Linked DNA regions of Homo sapiens: region 2 is linked to region 1. The links are contacts of gene promoters, found by promoter capture Hi-C in human tissues and cell types (Jung and others, 2019). All regions are on one chromosome and are shown on one strand. The core of a region is centred on a gene start or on the middle of the fragment in contact, and the rest is flanking DNA. Distances in the headings are between cores, read along the strand shown. Region 1 holds the start of DNAH5 (dynein axonemal heavy chain 5). Region 2 overlaps DNAH5 (dynein axonemal heavy chain 5).

The links. The method cuts DNA at HindIII sites, captures the fragments that hold promoters and counts their contacts. A contact is called where the count stands out against the background at its distance.
Region 2: a contact is called between a fragment that was not itself captured here and the fragment with the promoter of DNAH5 in region 1, in 1 of the 25 tissues and cell types used here (hippocampus).

What each region holds. Positions count from the first base shown.
Region 1 is chr5:13,943,046-13,946,395 of GRCh38, reverse strand. It overlaps DNAH5 (dynein axonemal heavy chain 5), which reads left to right and starts at 1,708. Exons shown (of 79, transcript NM_001369.3): 1 at 1,708-2,014. The coding sequence starts at 1,958. The HindIII fragment of the contact is 17,200 bases long and covers 1-3,350 here.
Region 2 is chr5:13,884,571-13,887,920 of GRCh38, reverse strand. DNAH5 (dynein axonemal heavy chain 5) reads left to right here. Exons shown (of 79, transcript NM_001369.3): 18 at 1,792-1,957; 19 at 2,693-2,932. All of the region lies in intron 1 of DNAH5-AS1 (DNAH5 antisense RNA 1), which reads right to left. Among named protein-coding and RNA genes, the nearest start is that of DNAH5-AS1, 26 kb to the right of the region's middle. The HindIII fragment of the contact is 6,258 bases long and covers 1-3,350 here.

The DNA.
Region 1 (3,350 bases), core at 459-2,958:
CCATCTACCTTGCCCGAGGGGTTGAAATTCAGCCACACAGACTGGAAGGCTTCCCGGTTTGCTGTGAAGCCTCAAGGGAGTCATGGTTATGCCTGCCAAACACAAAATGCATGCCATCAGCCATCTGTGGAAATCTTCCCAGGAAGTAACTCTCCCCAAGCGATGCGTTGTAAATGGGCTGCTGCTGCAATGAGGATGGTGCCTAAAATACCATTAGGGAAGCACCGATTCAAATGTAACTAATGAAAGATAATCGGCGATGTAATGAATTGTAACATGTTTGTCCTGAGGTCATGTGTTGACAGAGGATTCTTGGGATGGATAGGAGATGCCATGTGAGGAGGATCCGATCCTACTGCTATTTTCTGGTGTCTTCAGCACCACACAGAGAAGGGACTCAGAGTCTAGATACTGTCTTCAACACTTTTTATTAGAAACGGACAACAGCCGCTTACCAACAACCAGAGGTTGACTTCAACAAATATCCTGCAGGGCCTGGCCTGGTGGCTCATGCGTATAATCCCAGCACTTTGGGAGGCCGAGGTGGGCAATTGCTTGAGGCCAGGAGTTTGAGACCAGCCTGGGCAATGTGGCCAAACCTGTTTCTACAAAAAATACAAAAATTAGCCGCGTGTTGTGACACTTGCCTGTAGTCCCAGTTACTAGGAAGGCTGAGGTGGGAGGATCACCTGAGCCTGGGAGGTTGAGGCTGTGGTGAGTGGTGGTCACGCAACTGCACTCCAGCCTGTGTGACAGAGTGAGACCTGCAGGTCTCAAAAAAGAAAAAAAAAATCCTGCAAACAAACTTAAACTTCCTGTGTTCTAGTTATTTACTTACCAAATAATATTGAGGTCTAAATGTTGTCTGTTAACCTGACATATGGAGGCCGTCCGTGCCCTAGCATTGGATATGGACCAAGTGAATCTCCATGTTCTGAAACCATGTCAGCACCCTGCCTTCCAAGTCAGGCTCCACAGAGGTTGACTAGCAGGATGTTACCAGGATGAGTTCCCAATTTCCTGATTATCCTTGGATGACCTTTTAGGATTTGAGTTGCTGGACTGTGAATTCCAAGGACTAAATTCTAGATTCAACAAGACCAACCTTAAGTGTCCTGCCTTTTATTCAACTCGATGGGAGAAACCATACATGAGAGATCTCTCAAAGCATTTGGCAGTGTTTTCCCATTACATCTTCACAGTTAAGATGATCAAGATGTTTAGCCACATAGGATAAATTACCTTGGCTGAAGTGTATGTGCAACTGTGTGAGCACAAGTAATTTATGGACATGGTTTGCTATTTGCATATGAAACAGACTTCTTGTTCTTTGTGGTGGAGAAAATGGCTCCTATGGGTCACAATTAGCCTATCTGGCAATTAGTCACAATTAGTCACAATGCTGGCAGTGCATCGTGCTTGCAAAGTTGTTTACACAAAGTAAGACTGAGTTTCTCGACATGGACAATATATTCAGAGCTGTGGCTTCTTGGATTTCTAATCTGATATGGTTTAAAGTTTCTCATTGTTCAAAGAAACTATTTAGATATCACTGTTGACTCAATGCTTATTATTGGGCAGTGAATAGAATTAATTGAACAACAGAAGGAGTTGTGTTGCTACCGAGCAGTTAAAATGCTTTGATTGCTTGATAAACATGATTAAGAGGCATGGTTCAACTGTATAGTGTATAAACAATATTACCCTAACAACACCAGGCTTCGAGAGAGAGGAGAGGCCCAGGGCAGACACTCTAGGAGAAAAACTTGAGTGGTATAAGTGGAGTTTTAATTTTTATTCTGTGAATGTAGTGAATAATACATGCAAATTAGAAACGTGAAAGTAAAATGGAAGTAAAACTTTCCATTTGGAAGCCTGTTGGATGTTGAGCAGGTCTGCCAGGAGTTAGAAGACCATTCCGGAAGAGCTGACTCCAGCCTGTCCATGCACGGCTACAATGTTTAGGATTGGGAGGAGACAGCTCTGGAAGCATAGCGTCACTCGAGTTTTAACGGTAAGGTGCTGTTGTCTGTACCTTTGCATGTGTGTTTTGGATTATCATCTGTCACACCTGGGTGGAAAAAACAAACTTGAAAAAGGTTCAAAGTCACACACTGATGAATTTGCGAGAAACACATTTTTTAACTAATGTTCACCTGGTGCATAGGCTACATATTCATTTTTTAAATAAAAAAAATTTTGCATCTGTAGGCTTTTCTGCACGTTGCCGCTTAAACTACGCACCTAGAAATTCATGCTGCATCTTTTGGGAAGATGCTTTCCTGGGGTCAAAAACACATTCATAGTGGTTTGGGCACTTTGTATTCTTTCAAACCTGTAAACTTTAGTTGGTGATTAGAAATAGTTAAGGCAGATTCTAGGCTGCAAGGTTTAGGCTTTGAAATCACTCCCCTGTTCTATATGCCTGCAAATGAGGTCACAGACAGTGAGATGCAAGGCTGTGCCTTTGGAAATCACATTGAAGAATGAACTTCCCTAGCACAGGGCTCAGCTCAGCAGCTTTTTATTATGCAAATGCATAGAGAGGGATTTGGAAACCTCTTCCACTGCCAATTAACGTCAGAAGAAATTGGAGGTTTCTCTAGGACTCAGTTCTCAACCATTAACCCATGCTTCCTACTGGGCTTGATCACTGTGTCTTTTTGTGTATCCCCAGAAGCTCACATGATCCCCCCTAGCCTGTTGTTTTTACCACAAAAGAGCAGGCATCTACCTCTGAATTTTTTAAGTATGCCACCATCTGCCACCCCTCACTTGCCCAAGCCACAAGATTCTGATGCATCCTTCCCAAGGTGAACGTCTTGCAGCCAAGCCCCTGAACTTGCTTGCTAGAGTTAGAAGACCATTCTGGAAGAGCTGACTCCAGCCAGTCCATGCACTGCTTATTCTTCAAGACCAAGTGCTAGTGTTACCTCCTCTGAGAAGCGTCCCCTGACACTTTGAGGAGGAGGTGTGAGTTTCCTTCCTGTACCCTGTCAGCACTTTCCTTCGATGTCTTATAGAGTCCTTGTCACATCACTGTAGTGAAATGACATTTACCCACATGTCTCTTTCTCTTGCTAGATTGCGAGTTCTCTCCATTTTAAAATAATCTTCCTTTAACACAGAGCTTGGTCCATAGTATATGCTTGGTCCTTAATATATGCTTGTGGAATAAGTTGAATGAATTAAACATTTCACATGTCTGAACATTTTTCCTGTGCTTCAGTACCAAGTCTGAAACACCACAATTGATGATAAAATCTCAGGTATAATTAATGAATTATTCTTCCTTGACATGAACTATGTTTTGAGAGTAAGTCAAGTCTTTTGGAGGTTTCAATTATATA
Region 2 (3,350 bases), core at 493-2,992, 59 kb after region 1:
GATTCCCGAGTAGCATTAGGGGCCAGTTTGAGTTTGGGGACCATGAATTCCCAGTGCCAAGCATCTGCCTCACCATGACCTATGTGTGCCGGTGGAGAGGGTAGGTCACCTGGTTCATTTGGGTTGGGCGTCTCCTGGGTGGGGCAGTGGAAGGTTGAGAGAGTGATGGAGTAAAGGATATTAGCAAAACAATGGTTGAAGTGTGAAATCGTGTTAGGAGAGGGCATGAACCAGGGAGTAAGGGTGAAGAGACCTTGAGAAGACATGGCGTCTAGTAGGTTCCTGGTTTGCCAAAGCTAAAGCATCATGGGAATGAGGAAATGGTGGAGCCCCATGCTGATTATTCAAGGAGGACACCACTCAGGATTGAAAGAAAGGCCCTTTTGGTGGGTTTCAGCTTTTGGGTGTCATCATGGAGGTTAGTTGTTGAAATGAAGCAGGATAAGTGGAGGCAGCATCTTTCATTTATTTTATTTGTCCTGGGGGATATTTTAATGAGTCTATTTATTACTTCTTTTTCCTCATTGCGTTTATATTCTGCTTTGTTAATTTCTATGCTATTTACATTTTTATGGTTATGCCTTCTCACAGAGAGAAAGAGTTAAGAGATGTAAACAACGTTGTTGGAACTATATTAGTCTTTGAGAGGTTATCAATCTCATCTTCTAGAACCCTCAATACAAAGGAATTTTATGATCTCAAACATGTGCTTGTGTTACTGAGAGGACTGAAAGAGCTGCAAGTTAATTGAGGATTCCCTGTGAGAGCTGGCCCTGAAAATGGAGACCACATGTGTGTTTCTCTCCAAGGTAGAGTCAGAGGACTTAAGATTCAGACTTTAAAAAATATTAGTGTTCTCTCAGAGAATTGAGGAGTTAGTTTACATGGAATGAGTTGACTAACCTTTGCAAATATTTAGGTCCTGTGGATGTTTGTGATTTTCCAACCAATAATAATAACAAGCACTTCTTGTGTGCTTACTTTATGCCAGGCACTGCTCTTAGTATTTTACTTGCATTTATTTTATGGAATACTTGCAAAAACTACAGTGAGTTCTACTATATCACCATTATACATATGAGGGAATTGAGACTGAAAAGAATTTTCAGGATCATGCAGAGCAAGGATTTGAATCCTAGTTTTCAAGCCGTATAAGTTTAAAGATGTATAATGCTGGAACTTGGAATGGAGCTGGACACTGTGCCTAACTGACAGTCTGTTGTTTCATGGGCTTACTTTCCAACCAGGTGGTAAATCACTGATTCTGTCTATATCATCCATCTATAACTATCTGTCTACCTAATCTCCTCCAGAATTGATCACCATGCCTCAAATCATGTTAGTTTATATTTATTAAATCCATTCTTGAGAAATGCACAATATAGTTAGAAGGGTGGGTAGTGTCTTTGAAATTAATGAGGGGATGACTATGGTTTGTTGGCAAAAACAAGGAGAGAAAGAAGGGTGGCTGGATCCGATTTATGTGATATGAAGGAAATGTGACGAGTAGAGAGGCTGCTGATGGCTTTTGAAGATATTTTCTCTACTGGTGGAGAAGTGCCTGTAATTTTGGTCCATCTACACTGATCCAGTGGGTTCTCTTGTCCTAAACACATTCCTTTAGAGGACACCTGGCCTGTGCTATTGTGAAGGATGTGGCCAAGCATCACTGGGGCTGAAATCTCACCTGGAGGCTGAGCCACAGCATTGCTACCACTGTTTCTGTGCTCTCAAAAGCTAGATAAACCATATACCACTGTGCTATCTTTTTTTTTTTTTTTTTTTGGTTAGGATCTTTGTGTAAATGGTGCACAAATACTACATTTTAAAAGCTCATTAGTGGAGGAGGCAGTCAATGAGCTTGTAAATATGTTGCTGGATGTGGAAGTTTTATCTGAAGAAGAAAGTGAAAAAATATCCAATGAGAATAGTGTTAATTACAAAAATGAAAGTTCAGGTAAGAGATGGGGTAATGAAAGGGTCTTGTTTTTCTATGACATTTACTAAAAACTAAAACTGCATTTTCTACATACCAATTAATTTCATACTTCTATAAACATCCTCTCGATTTTCTAATGATATGTATAAATCTGAAATTATGGCCCTGAGCATATTTTAGTGACTCTATGTTGTTAATTCCTACTATTTTTGGTTAAACTTTGCAAACATGCACTTTGCATTGGCCCTGGTTAGCTTTCTTTGCATTTATGTGTGGGTGGGTGTTTTATTTTACCTTATCAATAGAGTTGGATGGATTATTGACTGGAATTCCCCTTGGAGAGCCTCTAGACTGAGCGCACCTTTTGCAGGACAGAGGAGAACAGAGAGATGTGGATGTGAAGAAGGGAAATTATCCCCCCAAAGTTTTAGGGTTATTGGTGGGAGGTAGCACCAGAACCCAGGTCCTTGGGGGCCACTGTAGCTTTTCCAGCCATAGCTCCTGCCTCTCTTGTTGGCTGTTTTCTTGTATTGAGAAGGAGATGCTTCCATCAGTCCCTCTGGTTCCTGATTTCCTCCTACTTTTTGATGTCCTCACTTCCTAAGAAGTGTGATGTTTAAGTGATACTAAACTTGCATGTAATTTATCCTTTAATTGCAACAGATGATTCTATCTATCTGTCTATCTATCTGTCTATCTATCCATCCATCCATCTAACTTATCTCTATCTCTATCTCTTTCATCTTGTAACAGCAAAAAGAGAAGAAGGAAATTTTGACACCTTGACATCATCTATTAATGCCAGGGCCAATGCCCTGCTTTTGACGACAGTCACGAGGAAAAAGAAAGAAACTGAGATGTTAGGGGAAGAAGCCCGCGAGTTACTCTCTCATTTCAACCATCAGAACATGGATGCTCTTCTGAAAGTTACAAGGAATACACTAGAGGCCATTCGCAAACGTATTCATTCCTCTCACACAATTAACTTCCGGGGTAATAATCTTGTGTGGTTTGCTTAGTGGATGATCAGGCATAGTTGCTGGGGTATGTGTGTGTGTGTGTGTGTGCACGTGTGCACGTGCATGTACATTCCTGTTAAATTTAAATAATTAAAAATATTCATCTTTTTTTAAATTTTTATTTTTTGAGATGGAGTCTCGCCCTGTCGACCAGGTTGGAGGGTAGCGGCACGATCTCAGCTCACTGCAACCTTCATCTCCTGGGTTCAAGTGATTCTCCAGCTTAGCCTCCCAAGTAGCTGGGACTATAGGCGCACGCCGCCACGCCTGGCTAATTTTTTGTATTTTAGTAGAGACAGGGTTTCACTATGTTGGGCACGCTGGTGGCGAACTCCTGAGCTCAGGTGATCCGCCCGCCCCGGCCTCCCAAAGTGTTGGGATTACAGGCGTGA